2 separate regions of the Homo sapiens genome follow, and region 2 is linked to region 1. The links are contacts of gene promoters, found by promoter capture Hi-C in human tissues and cell types (Jung and others, 2019). All regions are on one chromosome and are shown on one strand. The core of a region is centred on a gene start or on the middle of the fragment in contact, and the rest is flanking DNA. Distances in the headings are between cores, read along the strand shown. Region 1 holds the start of EIF4EBP3 (eukaryotic translation initiation factor 4E binding protein 3). Region 2 holds the start of LOC124901091 (a long non-coding RNA gene).

Region 1 (7,190 bases), core at 994-3,493:
ATCTTAAAAAAAAAAAAAAACCAGCCAGGTGTGGTGGCTTATGCCTGTAATCGTAGCACTTTGGGAGGCCGAGGCAGGCTGATCACCTGAGGTCGGGAGTTCAAGACCAGCCTGACCAACATGGAGAAACTCTGTTTCTACTAAAATTACAAAATTAGCTGGGTGTGGTGGTACATGCCTGTAATCCCAACTACTCAGGAGGCTGAGGCAGGAGAATCGCTTAAACCCGGGAATCGGAGGTTGCGGTGAGCCAAGATCATGCCATTTGGGCGGCAAGAGCGAAACTCCATCTCAAAAAAAAAAAAAAAAAATCCACAACTGGCTGGGCACGGTGGCTCATGCCTGTAATTCTTGTTTCGGAGGATGCCTGTTTGGGAGGATCGCTTGGGCCCACAAGTTTGAGACCAGCCTGGGCAACATAGTGAGACCCCGCCTTTACAAAAAATTTAAAAATTAGCCAGGTACAGTGGCATGCACCTGTGGTCCCAGCTATTGAGGACACTGAAGTGGGAGGGTCACCTGAGCCCAGGAGGTTGAGGCTGCAGTGAGCCATGATTGTACCACTACACTCCAGCTTGGGTGACAGTGAGACCCTGTGTCAAAAAAAAAAAAAAATCCAAAATCTCACCCAGACCAATACTGTATCAGAATTATCATTTTAACAATATCTCCAGATGATTTATATGCACATTAAAGTTTGAGAAGCTGGCCAGGTGTGGTGGCTCACACCAGCACTTTGGGAGGCCGAGGCAGATAGGTTACTTGAGCTCAGGAATTCGAGACCAGCCTGGGCAACATGGTGAAACCTTGTCTCTATAAAAAATCCAAAAATTAGCCCGGTGTGGTGGTGGGCACCTGTGGTCCCAGCTACTCAGGAGGCTGAGGTGGGAGGATGGCCTGAACCCAGGAGGCAGAGTTTGCATTGAGCTGAGATTACACCACTGCATTCCAGCCTAGGCAGCAGAGCAAAACCCTATCTCAGAAAATAAATAGTTTGAGAAGCAATCTTTTTTTAAATGAGTGAAGAAATCAGACCTAAGGAGAAATCTGATGAAGCCAGAGCTGAGTTAATATTGATAAATGGATGCAGTCAGGTGGTCTATACTTAATTTTTGGTGAGGGGAAGGGACAGTGGAGGCAGTATTGATTTTGAGGAAGCCAAACAGGACAGCCTGATGAATTCAAGATTTCCAGCATATATACATCTTCACCAATCCCACCACCTTGCTCCAGCCTGTCATATCACTGTGTCTACATAAAAAAAAAAAACAAAAAAAAAACTCCAAGGCCAAACTCTCTGACCTTTCTTTCCTTCTAAAGACCAAGCCCTCCTCACTAGCCCCCTGCCCCTCCTTAGTTAACTGGCAAAGAGATCAAAGGGCAGGCCTTCTGACTGGTGATGCCTCAGCTGTAGCCCCCAAACTTGACTCATCCTTTTATTAGTCCAGGTACCACTTCTTCAGAAAGATGACCAGCCCTCACTGACCTTCCCCTTCCTGCTGTGCTCCAGGCCATCAAGGCATGTGTCACCCAGGCTGGAGTGCAGTGGTGCAATCTCCGCTCACTGCAACCTCCGCCTCCTGGGTTCAACCTATCCTTCCACCTCAGCTTCCCGAGTAGCTGGGTCTACAGGCGCATGCTGCCGCACCCGGCTAATTTTTGTATTTTTAGTAGAGTCTAGGTTTCACCATGTTGCCCAGGCTGGTCTCAGACTCCTGGGCTCAAGCTATCCACCCGCCTTAGCCTCCCAAAGTGCTGGGATTACAGGCCGTGAGCCACCGCACCCGGCCTTGTACTGTTACTGTTTATGGGAGGCAGTACACAGCTGGGCTTAAGGGCACAGTCCTGGAATCAGATGCAGTCAGATTTGAATCCCAGCTTCCCTTCCTGCAAGATGTGTGACTTTGGCTAATCATAGTGCTTTACTATCCAAAAGTTGGCAAGGAATGGGTGAACTAATACAGGATAAAAACGCTTGCCCTACTTCACCTGCCCCCAGCTCCCGGCTATAAACAGTAAATAGCTGAGCTGCTGCAGCACTCAGGCAGGTTGGCCAGCGCTGGGCCAGCAGGAACTGGAAGCTGGTGTGGGGCCTGGGACTTTGGACGCATTTCCAGCTTTCTCTGAACCGGGCTGGCTTCCTAGCAGATAGGGCGGGACCGTCGGGTTGAGTGACGGCCGGTGGCCCGCCCTGGGCGTGACGTTGTTCTAGTGTTGTTGCCAGCAGCTGCACGTGGTCGGCTGAGTCCGCCTCAGACTCAGAGCTGCGCTCCTCGACCTCAACGCCAGGCGGTTACTTTGCTGCTCCTCCCGCTCGCTATGTCAACGTCCACTAGCTGCCCGATTCCCGGGGGCCGGGACCAGCTGCCCGACTGCTACAGCACCACGCCGGGGGGCACGCTATACGCCACTACCCCCGGAGGTCAGCGGGCCGGGCAGGGGTCCGCAGGCTGCGGACATATTAGCGCGTGCGTGTTGTTGCGGGGCGGGGGTAGGGGAGGGACAGACCTAAGACTTGTCCGCAGGCCCCTCTACAGGTTGTAGCTTTGGGGGAGAATGTTTGGAGCGGAAGCTCAGTTCCCAAAAACTTCTAAGTGATGCAACAAGGCCATGAGCCTAGCTTCCGGGTGTTTGGGCTGTAATCCTTCACTGTGGCCTGGGTTCTTGGAGCCTTACACACGCTCCTTACCCCTCGCGACTTTGCTTCCTAGGAATAGGGGCCAGGGCCCCCTACTGAGCGTGACCTCAGCCGGAAGCACCGGGTCTTGAGAAGTGGAGTAGTTAGAACAGTTGGGGCAGTTGCTCCGTTTTTGTGCTGCTGGCTGGCGTCTGTTTGGTTGGGCGAGCAGCCTGGGATCACGAGCTGCTGGGCTCCCGACCCAGGGATTCCTGCCACGCGGAAGCGGAGGGGAGGAACAGGGCAGGACCCTTTGAGGACATTATGCGGGCCAAGTTCCTCTGAGCTAGTGTGAACCTTATAGGACCTGGGAGGGGTCAGGATTAGAACAGTACGTTTCTCCTCCCTGCAGGAGATAGCCCAGGTAACAGCACTGGGTGGAACCCTTCACAACTGCTATTTCACTTCTTGAACCACCTGAGGCTGTTAGTCTAGGTCTCACCTTCACTGGTGAGACCAAAGCAGAGGTTTCAGAGTGGTAGAGGAGCAGCATGAAGTACCTGAACTCAAAGTTTGGTGTTCCTCTTAGAGCCAAGATCTGAAGCTCTCCCAAACATAAAGCCCCTGCCTATACCAGCTGGGATGCCCCCCTTGCTTTATACCCACATCTTGGTTAGGTCTGGAAGATTTTAAGCACTATGAAGGCTTGTCTGCTGAGAACCTAGCTGGGCTTCAGAGCCGATGTCCTTTGATACACAGGGAAATTTGACACCACCCTCACCTCCAGGCCCCAAAAGGCCTGAGTCTGGGACCCCAGTCACCTCGGTACCCAAGCTCCTGACTCTTACCTCAGTCCCAACCCCTTGACAGGCACCAGGATCATCTACGACCGAAAGTTCCTGCTGGAGTGCAAGAACTCACCCATTGCCCGGACACCCCCCTGCTGCCTCCCTCAGATTCCCGGGGTCACAACTCCTCCAACAGCCCCTCTCTCCAAGCTGGAGGAGCTGAAGGAGCAGGAGACAGAGGAAGAGATACCCGGTAAGGAAAGCAGGAATTAAGAATTGTCCCAGCCTTTGAGTTCAAATGCCACTGTGACACAGTGCGGGGGTTCAGTTCCAAGAGGGGTTTCTGCACTGATGCTGAGCCTGCAGATCCTCAGACCAGCAACCTGTCTTCCTGCCTTTTCTCTCTCCAGATGACGCACAATTTGAAATGGACATCTAATCCAGTGCAGATGACCTGGCATGTGGAGTTACAGAGGGATCCCTCATGCCACTGCTGCCACCACCTCTTCCTGGGGCATCCAAAGGCCAGCTGGCCTCATCTAATCTGGAAGGGAGTGACTTGTTAGTTCCAGGCCTCCTTTAGTTCTGAGGCAGCTAGACCAGGGATAGGAGTGGGCAACTTGCCAAGCCCTTAACTCTACTTCCTCTTCAGTCTGTGGTACTCCTCCTAACCCTAAACCCTCTATGCTCAGGGGCTGGAACTGGGGAATGGAGTAAGTCACCTTCTGACTGCTTAGTAAACATTCAAAGAAATGCCTTGGCTCCAGTGTTCTCCTCAATGCTGATTTTCTCATCTCAGCCACACAGCTGAAGGCCCTGGCAGGCCTGGTTAAGCTCAGAGGCCTCAGATCATTCCCAGCTCCCACCAGGCCCACTTCCAGCAGCAATTAGAACCTGAGGCACGCTACAGTGGCAGGTTACATGAGCCTCCAAACCATAAACAGCAATAGCTTGGCCACTGCCAAGGGCTGTTCCTGTCTTCCCAGGAAGCAGCCTTCCTGGAACCAGGGCCCCCCAGCAGCCCCTCCCCTATCCATTCCAAAGCAGGACTCTTGGAAAAGAGGTGCTGTCCCAGCCTATAGCCATCCTGTCTCTCCCTGTGCCTTTTCTGCTTCCCACCTCTAAGCACCAGTTCCTCTATTCCAACACCAAAAACCTTGTACCCTTCTCACAGCATGATAGTCCACCAAGTACCTCTCTCAAAGGGTTACAAGAGACCTTAGAGTTCACACTGAAACCCAAAATGAGGCAGCAGTTTGTTTGGCAAGTCAGAGTTACAATCCCCAATCTCAGTAATCTGGTCTTTTTCTCCTTCGATTTACACAGAAAACCCCACTCAATGTGGTTCTAATCTCTGTAACAGTAGTATCTCAAGGGTGATACAGTGCAAATAGGACTGTCTTTCCTTTTGTTGAGGGAAAAGTCTCCCCGTTCTATTTGAGTCTGTTCTCATGCTGAAATGAAACCATCCAAACACAGCTGCTCCGCCCAGCACAGGATGTGCTTTCAGTCTACTTTGGGAAAAAGTGGTAGGCAGTAGTCTGACTTTACCCAGCAGATCCCTTCCTGATGAATGGAGAAGGGAGAACAGAGGTTTGCAGATACACAGGGAGCAGGGCAGTCGAGGACACCAGAGGGGACTAGCTTGGCACCGGAAGGGTTCATCTCTCCTACCCAAGGCCCACCGCAGAGATGTTTTTATTGAAATGCATGTTATGAGTAACACATGAACTCCCTCTGGCCCAGGTGGGACTTCTTCCCTCATAGGTGGGTCAGGCCCAGTGGGACAGTCTTGGTGGTGGTAAGAAGGGAGCCAAGTGACAGAAGGTCTCCAAGGCATAGGAGATGGTGTCCGGTGAGTCTGGGGAACCGAGGATTATGAAGCCTGCTGGAAGCCTGGTATGGTATGGTTCTTCTCAGCTGTGGCTGCAGATTTCTCTTCATTGGCTGCCTCCTCTGAAAACAGACTCCTCTTTTCTGCAATTAATCTTTTAACTCCTACCATCCACTGACTGACCTCAGTCACATGGTCAACCATGAGGGAGCGGTGGATGTCATCTGCTGCGTCCCACCGGTGGCTTGAAAGCTCTGAAGAGAGACGGGGGTTGAGCAAGCAGCCTGTGGTACAAGAGCTTCCATGCCTCCCCTCCCAGTCAATCAAAATCTCAGCACCTGCTCCAGCATAGCCAACCACAGCAGGAAAGGGATTTAGGCTATACCAAAGAACCCACCCATACCTTGCACCAGTAGAGCCATTCTCTTCTTTACAGGTATTGACAACTTTCCTCCAGCCCACTGTTCCTGCAGCAGTGCCAGGCGTCGGCTGATGTCATCACATACCTGCTTCTAAGAGACAGAAGCCCCCCTCCAATTCAGTGCTGCCAGCCCAATGAGGGGAGGAGAGGGGAAGACAGCACCACATAGGAAGCACCTGCTTTCTCTGGCCCACACTTTAGAATTCTGGTTCTTTACCCAAAGATTAGAGGCCCCACTGAGAAACTGATGAAACCTTCCTTTCCCTGCTGTCTTCTTCTGACACTGCCTGATGTTTCATTGAAAAGTAGAGGTCATTAAACAGGAATTCTCTCATCTTCCCACCACCAGTCTTCCTAACCCACCTCCTACTATGACTAGAATTCTAAAATTTCAGGGGCTTCTCAGACTCTCAGAAGCTCATCCTGTAGCGTTACTTCACAAAAAGAAAACTAAGCGCCAAAGAGGTGAAATGACCATGCTACTTTCCCTTTCTTTTAAGACATTCTTCAGATCTCTTTTTCTAAGAACTAAGAAAACACTATAGCTAGAAGAGGTTTCTTTCTCCCTAACTGGGCACAATATAAATTTCCTGAGAATAAAATCAGCAGCTTCTGCTCTGAATGGCATGGAGATACAGAAAATCAGGTTGTTCACTAATAGGAGCTGAATTCAACTCTTGTTCCCACAGCATCTTCTACTGATTGGTCTTCAAAAGTCTTATTAATGCTCCTGAAATCCTGTGTTCATTTCTTTGGGAAGGCCTTAGCAGATTCTGAAGGAGTCCGTAACTCTCAAAGGATTAAGAACCTGTCCACTGGGTCAGAGGGTCTATCTCTGGGAACCATTCCTGCATTTGGCTGTGGATGGGAGCCCTCTCTAACCTCTGATGTGCCAGAGCTTACCCTTGTGTGGCCACGGCAGTCTTCCAATGCCTGTTCCAAAGGTCTCAGCACATCCTCCATCACAGCCTCAGACTCGACTGGGAAACTTGTGGGCTCCACGCCAGAGGCAGGACCACTCCCCACAGGTGGGGACCTGGGAGCCTTACTTGAAGGAGGTGGAGGCCCCATTGGGGGAGGCCCAGGAGAAGTCTCTGATGCGGGGACTGAAAAGGTACAGCAGGATCAAGCAACATGGCTTAAATGGGTAAGAAGCTTAACTCTAAATTCACCCCTTCTAAGAAGGGCTACTCTCTGAGACAACTTATTCATTCAAAAATATGCATTTATGAAGTCCCCACTCTACGCCAGACAATATGCTAGGCACTAAAGATTAGAAAAGTAAACCAGGTGGCCGGGTGTGATGGCTCACACCTGTAATCCCAGCACTTTGGGAGGCTGAGGCAGACAGATCACCTGAGGTCAGGAGTTCAAGACCAGCCTGGCCAACATGGCAAAACCCTGTCTCTACTAAAAATACAAAAATTAGCTGGGCATGGTGGCACATGCCTGTAATCCCAGCTACTCAGGAGGCTGAGGCAGGAGAATCGCTTGAACCCGGGAGGCAGAGGTTGTGGTGAGCTGAGATGG
Region 2 (6,941 bases), core at 4,442-6,941, 970 kb after region 1:
AGGCCACTTTGTGTCATTGCGCGTCTAGATGTTTCCGAATTGCGTGTGTGTGTGTGACTGTGCAATATGGTTGTGTATGCTTGCAATGCCGTTGTGCCTATGAGACAGTGTGCGATTGTGTGCCTATGGATCTGTGTACCGTGTGCCATTGTGTGATCGGTCCGCTGTGGGGGTGGGGATCTGAGTGCGGCGTGTCAGTGTGCAGTGGAGTGTGCAGTCTAAGCTTGCGGCTGTCTCCAGGCAGAAGAGGAGACCCCGGCGCGGGCGGGGGCGGGTTGGCGCCGGGCAAACGCCTTGGGTAGAGGGGAGAGGACGTTTCGTTAGTTCCCGCCCCTTCCTGACTAAAATTGCCTACCCGAAGCGCCCCGGAGGGCTTCACGGGAGGAGGGTAGACTCTCCTTTGCCCCCGCACCCCCACCCCCGCTGCCTAGGGGTTTTGGGAAAGCCGCGGGAGTGGGAGGGAATGCGGGAGGTGATTCTTCCAAAGCCAAGTCTGCAGCTCGAGCCTCAGTTTCCCCATCTGGAATTCGCCTTCCCGCTGACATCTCCGTAGCGAAGCCTAAGAAATTGGAGGGCTCATCCTCTTCTTGCGGGGGTCAAGGGGACTGAAAGGACGTGCAGGAAATGAGATCCATCGCAGACTCAGCTCCCCTCCCTCCTTCCTGTCGGTGCTTTTCCACTCACTCGCCTGCTCTCCCATCTCCCCGCCCCCTCCGCCTGCCTCCTCGAAGCACTGTGGGATTCCGAGGTTGCTGCAGCCAGAGAAGCTGCAGAAAAACACGGAGCTGGGGGTGAAGGGGGACTTAAAAGGGGAACTACCCGGAAGGACCCAAGAACACAAAGACAGAGCCACTGCGGTTATCTGGCTGGTCAGCAAGGGTATGCGGCTTCCTCCGCGCTGCGGAGGCTCCCAGAGCCAGGTCACCCATTCTGCCAGCTCAAGTCTGTTGTCATGGGAACCAAACCTTCCAACTTAAGAATCTGGGGGCGACTTTCTAGCGTGGGAGGAAGGGTGGTGTGCACGGTTGCTGAGATGGAAGCAGGGTTTTGTTACTCAGAGCCAGGCTGCGGAGGGGCGGGGTGCCGGGCGCCTGGGTTCTATTCCAGGCACAGCAGCAGACTGGCAGAGCGCGTGAGCAGCTGTGGTTTGTCCCCTAATTGGTATGTGTGCCTATAAAGCTCTGAACCAGAAAGGCGTGGCCTCCGGGGGGACGGGAGGGAGGCGGCAGGCAACCCATCCCCACACCTCAGGCCATACTGAGGAGGCAGCTGCCCAGGCTCCAGGGCTATTTAAAAGGCTTTTATTTCCAGTTCCAGAGCCCGCCCGAATGGGTTTGTGGTCCTCTCCAGGCCTCTCCCTGTCTATCCTGGGCCTGCTCATTGCTGGTCTGGCTTTTTTGTGCAGGTCATAACGTGCTCAGACAAGTATGGCTCCAAGTGGCAAGTCATCTGGAGCATGACCTCAGGCTCCCAACCTCTGCTGGGCAGGCTCAGGTTTCCACCCCAGGGTAAACCCCTCTACTCTGGAATGTGGTCTGTGGCCACCAACAGAGCAGAGGGGATGAGAAAATGGGAGCCAGATGCTTCCCTCAGCAAGAGACACAGGTACTGCCAGGAAACCTTGCGTGACATCTGGGAACATGAAAGGTTCCAAGTGAGTTCCAAAAAAGGGCTCCAAACCAAGTAGCAGCAATGTGGAAGAGTCAGGGAGCTGAACCAGGCGCCCACTCCTTTACTGTGGCCAAACGGCCCTGAGGTGAGCTCTGGTGGGGCAGCAGCCACCATGTATTAATCATCTCTAGCCCTGTGCCCAAGTAAAGTGTCTGGCACCTTTAGCTTTTTCACAGTGATTTGTCAGGTCAACCAGGGATTTGAGGCAGGAAAGACTAGAGGAGCCTGGACTAGAGTGAAAAGAAAACAGCTCAGAAATTCACACAGGAAGCTGTAAGGCAGTACTGTTTCAATGCTTTATTAACAGTTGGAAACAAAACCAACAAACTGGAGGTGATGACATCCCAGAAGCCTATGAGGCAAGGGAAATAGGTTTGCATTTTGTCCCTCACACCTCTCTCTCTCTCTCTTTTTTTTTATTAAATGCATCTTAGCAAAAGTAGATTAAAAAAGAAAGGGTCAAAGCCCCAGATGTCAGCGAGCAGGGAGGAGGTGACCCAGGGGAGCAACAGACGCCCTGCATCAGAGTCCTCCCAGGAATAGTCCAAAGGAGCTGCTCTTGCCCCTTTATACACAAGCGCCAGCAACCAAAACCCTCCCTCCTGGCAATAAGGCCTCACTATAGTTGCCCTCATGCTTCCTAAGCTCTCTCTTGCTCTAATAACTCTAATTCTGGGCCAAGCCCAAGAGTGCCATTCTTTCTTCCTAGCTGGGGATGGAAAGCTGAGAGGGGCACAAGGAGGGCAAAAGTATCACCCTAAGCCAGAGAATTGCAGCTTCCTGTGGTTGGGGCCACCAAACAGTTCAGTGTGCCCACCCACTTCTCTTTTAGAAGAGAGCTGGGGTACAGTGTATGAAGGCACTCCTGGTGCCCAGTTCCCCAGAATGTCCAGTTAGCATCTGCACATTTGGCTTGATACATTTATACATTTATAAAAAACTCTGTGGTCTTAGAGTTCCTGCTACTCTTAGGCCTGGCCCAGCTCAACCAGAGAAGGGGTTCCTCCTGTGTCGGATTCCCTGGGAGAGAGGATCTGCCTTGGACTCAAGGGTCCAGAAGGTCCAGGGGCACATTCAGGATTGGGCCTGTGAGAAGAAATCCCAGAACTCTGTAACCTGCCACCAAAGCTTCTTACATTATGGAGGGGAAAGGGGGAAGGAACAGTTTTCTTTAAAAAAATTTTTTTTTTCATACAAAAATAGATCCATTTGCAAAACAATTTCTCAGCCAGGAGGCTCCACCTCCCATTTCCTTGTAGACAGAGGGTGAGGTGTTGGGATGGTCACAGTACAACCCATAGTCCAGATGAGATGCACCAAAGCTCAGGGAAGGCATGAGGAGGGAAGGTGGCTCAGTAGCCTGGGGTTGGTGCAGAGCGTCCAGAGAGGCAAGGGCATAAAGCGTGGCAGAAGCTGGGGGCAGGTCCCACACTGTCGCTATGCCCTGCCTGCCTGCCCACAGGCTCTGGCCTGGGCCACAGCACAGCAGGGAAACTGGTCCAGATCCTTTGCTTTGGAGGCCTTTCCCAGGAAGGTGGGGTAAAGGTGGGATTTGCTCCCTGCTTCCTTAGGAGCAGCTCCCAGTGCCACACCACTAATAATAAATAACCACAGCCAGGAGAGGGAAGAGCAGAGACAACAGCAATGAAAGGAGGGATCTAGCCCAAAGGTTTACAAGCCCCATGCTATTCTCAGGGCCAGAGAAACCACAAAAGAAAAGCACAAATCCAGCAAGACTGACCTAGGGGGGAAAGCCCATTAGAAAGTCAGGGCTGAGAAAAAGCAGGCTGGGCCTTGTCTGAGATGAGGCCCTCTGAGTAACAGAGAGGAGACAGGGTTAAGGCAGCAAACATGGACCCTGCTTTGGTAATACAACAGCCAGGGCTGGCTAAGTCGGGCTCAGGCCTCCCCTGCACTGCCCTTTCCTTCTGGCCTCCAGGCAGCTGAAGCTGTATGTGATGTTGAGAGAGCAGCAGGCCAGAGAGAAAGACAGGGTCAGGGTGGTGGGAGTGGCCACCCCAGAGGAATATCCCCTTGAGCCTTTAGGCACATGCTGCAGGGCAGGACAGTCTGCGGCTCCGCTGAGGAGCTGCCGCGGTCACAGGACCCACATTAGCTTGCACGGCCAACCAACTCCTTGGCTTCCTCAAGGATTGTGGGGAATGTCTCACTGTTCTTGGACACCTTGGCAGGAACAGCAGCCATGGCATCATCCTTGGTCAGCTCCGAAGCTAGCAGAGATGTGACTGCACACCCGGCCTTCCTGTTGGCTGCAAGAGAAGACGAGAGATTCTGTCTATGGAAGGCCTCATTTCTAATTTCTTTCAAACTCTACAGCAGATAATCAGCGTAAGCCATGCAGACATGACTACCTTGGCCACTTCACAGAGGCCCTTACTTTGAAGAAAGGGGCAGAGATCCAGCATGTGGAATATATTGTTGGGTGGCAAAGAATGTAAGAGAGTGTGGTGCAACAGGAAAGCAAGCCTTGCCCCCTTGCTTCCCTGTGTGAAAACAGCACAAAAGTTTGAACACAGACAGACAGAACTGGGCTGAAGTGTTAGCTATGTGACTTAAGGAGAGATGAAGTATTCAAAGTCTATTTTCTCGTAATAGGGATGTTGGAATTAAATAGACTAAAGTTTAGTACATAGTATTATTTTTGTTTTCTTGACAGGTCCCAGGAAACTCCTAGGCCAAAACACTTCTCAGTCAGCCCTGGGAGGGTTGTCCCTAGCAGAAGGCAACCTTCCGTAAGTGGCTGGAGAGACTCCCGCAAAGAGGAACAGCAGCCACGCACTGACACCGCACTCCCACGTGTTCCTCCAACAACAGATGCCCACATGCCTTAGCTCTTTCCCACCCCTTCAAAGGTAGCAGCCGTAATACAAATGCCAAGGGCCCTACAAGGTGTGTAGAGTATGTGGGGGTGGCATGGCGGGGGGGAGGTAGTAATAAAAACTATGCCAGGGAAGCAGAACTGGGATAAAGATGGACAGGAGAGGACCCCTACCAAGAAATCTCAGCCCAGGTGGCTAAGAGATGGTCAAGTTCCGGCTGTCATACCAGATTAGAAAAGAAGAACCAAATCAATCCACGAGTTTCTGTTCTAACTGCTGGGTTTCATCCCCAAGACTCTCATATTCATTTATGGTATCTAGGCTTATGGCCCCAGTATCTGCAGCAGGAAGGCCACTCCTTGAGACCATGCCCATCTCATGATGTTTCCTCCTCCCATGCCCCAGAACAGCACAGAGCAACTGTGTATACACAAACAGCTGTCTGGGACGAAAGAAGCCTGACACGAAAGGCCATATGTTATGGGTCAGCTTCTGCGAAATGTCCAGCACAGGCAAACCCAGAGATAGAAAATAGACTGGTGGTTGCCAGAGGCAAGGGGAGGGGAGAATCAGTAGTGACTGCTAATGGGGATTATGAAGTTTTTCTTCTGGGGATGATGAAACGTCCTGGAATTAGATAGTAATGGTTATACAATCTTGTGGATATTCTAAAACCCCTGAATTATACATTTTTAAAAGGTGAATTTTAGGTATGTAAATGATAGCTCAATTGGAAAAAAAAAAAAAAAAAAAAGACTTCCTGGAGATCTGGGAAAGCTGGAGTGGAGAAAGCAGTACCGGAATGTTTTAGAAGCAGGACCAGATGAAAGAGCCGAGCACTCCTAAATAAAGACCAAGACTGGGGCAGCTGCATGACTGGAATGAAGCGCCTTTTTGGACCAGCAAAAAGCTTTAGGTAGGCAGAAGCCAAACAGGATCAGATAGCCCGTCTTTTTTTTTTTTTTTTTGATGGAATCTCAGTCGCCCAGGCTGGAGTGCAGCAGCGCAATCACAGCTCACCGTAGCCTCAACCTCCCAGGCTCAAGTGATCCACCCACCTCAGCCTCCCTAGTAGCTGGGACTATAAGCATGTGCCACCATATCTGGCTATTTTTGTATTTTTTTGCAGAGATGGGGTCTCTCCATGTTGTCTAGGCTGGTCTTGAACTCCTGGGCTCAAGCAATCCTCCCACCTTGGAACCTAAAGTTCTGGGATTACAAGCATGAGTCACCACAGCCTGCCAAAGCCCAAGTCTTAACCAGGTCTTCTCTCCCTGCAGAGCCATGACCCAGAGCTACTGTTTTCATCCCAGGAGAGGCTGCCCATAGATCAAGCAGGGAACACGCAGCATGCACACAGGTTACCAATTTAAAGGTCTCCTCCTCCTCCTCTACTTCCCAGGGGCACAAGAGGTTGTCTACCAAGAGGAGAAAGAATAGTGAAGACCCTGACTGACAGCCACAGGACTTATCTAGTTACAGATCATAGGTATGTGCCCGAGACTGTGGGATTTTCACAAAACCATTTATTGGATTATGAACATAAACTAATGCCCCGTGACTGAGACAAGTGAGGAAAAGGAGCCTACGTGAGTGTGACTATGATGGTCTACATGTGTGCATTTCTCATACTGTCCTTACCACCAAAATCTTCCTCAGGCCTCCTACATTTCCACTCTCTTCTGAAGTACTCCCTCTCTAGACCCCATTTCTCATATCCAGAAGGGTAGTAGTTTCCTATCATTTTATTATTTCTTTGAATTCAGTCTCCAACAGTTGAGAAGACACTGCGACTCTGTGCATGTGTGTGTGTGTGTGTAACTCTAGTGGTATATATATGTTGAAATAACATCTGACTCCAGACCTTGGGAAAAGAACACTGGGCCACTTGTCCTGGGCAACACAGGAGAAGGCAGAGGTCCCATGTGGTAGGTCTTTAGCTGCTGCTTTCTGTGGTTTCTTCCTCCAAAATAAGAAGATACCAGTTGTACCTAACCAAGTGGTGTTTCTAGACTTTTCTGGACTCAAGAAGCTTCTGATGTATTACAAACTTCATAAGAACCAGGAGCAGAGAGTAGGTAGGGAGAAGATCAAAATTTCCCTTTTAAGCCTTGAAAGCCTATACACCAGGGAGGGTGTGATTTGGCCTAAGGTCAGGGGATGAGAAAGCTCTTGTTGGAACAGGTCTCCCAGCTTTCCACTCACTCACCATTATGCTCAGCAGGTTGAACAGTCAAGAAAAACTGACCTCCCCATGCTTCCCCCAACTTACTCACTTGTTATTAGACTATTGAAAAGTAGCCATAGAACCAGATAAATATTTTGACTACAAGAGAACAGTCCCACAGGCTGTGTGGGAAAAGGGAACAATGTTGAGATACTGGTGAATGCTCTCTGAGGACAGATTCCTAGAAGTTAGGGGTGGGCTAG

The links. Contacts are between HindIII fragments. The study calls those that stand out against the background at their distance.
Region 2: a contact is called between a fragment that was not itself captured here and the fragment with the promoter of EIF4EBP3 in region 1, in 1 of the 25 tissues and cell types used here (dorsolateral prefrontal cortex).

Annotation. Positions count from the first base shown.
Region 1 is chr5:140,545,419-140,552,608 of GRCh38, forward strand. It overlaps EIF4EBP3 (eukaryotic translation initiation factor 4E binding protein 3), which reads left to right and starts at 2,244. Exons shown (of 3, transcript NM_003732.3): 1 at 2,244-2,422; 2 at 3,488-3,658; 3 at 3,816-4,158. The coding sequence starts at 2,320. The coding sequence ends at 3,844. ANKHD1-EIF4EBP3 (ANKHD1-EIF4EBP3 readthrough) reads left to right here. Exons shown (of 36, transcript NM_020690.6): 35 at 3,488-3,658; 36 at 3,816-4,158. The coding sequence ends at 3,819. It overlaps SRA1 (steroid receptor RNA activator 1), which reads right to left. Exons shown (of 5, transcript NM_001035235.4): 3 at 6,564-6,766; 4 at 5,643-5,751; 5 at 4,650-5,493. The coding sequence ends at 5,282. RefSeq lists enhancers at 1,191-1,899, 1,900-2,606, 2,367-2,456, 2,607-3,314. The HindIII fragment of the contact is 4,539 bases long and covers 1-3,186 here.
Region 2 is chr5:141,513,068-141,520,008 of GRCh38, forward strand. It overlaps DIAPH1 (diaphanous related formin 1), which reads right to left. Exons shown (of 28, transcript NM_005219.5): 28 at 1,954-3,941. The coding sequence ends at 3,784. It overlaps LOC124901091 (a long non-coding RNA gene), which reads left to right and starts at 3,941. Exons shown (of 2, transcript XR_007058971.1): 1 at 3,941-4,581; 2 at 5,914-6,941. RefSeq lists enhancers at 467-1,092, 638-757, 1,093-1,718, 1,498-1,747, 1,719-2,344 and 2 more. The HindIII fragment of the contact is 3,163 bases long and covers 4,111-6,941 here.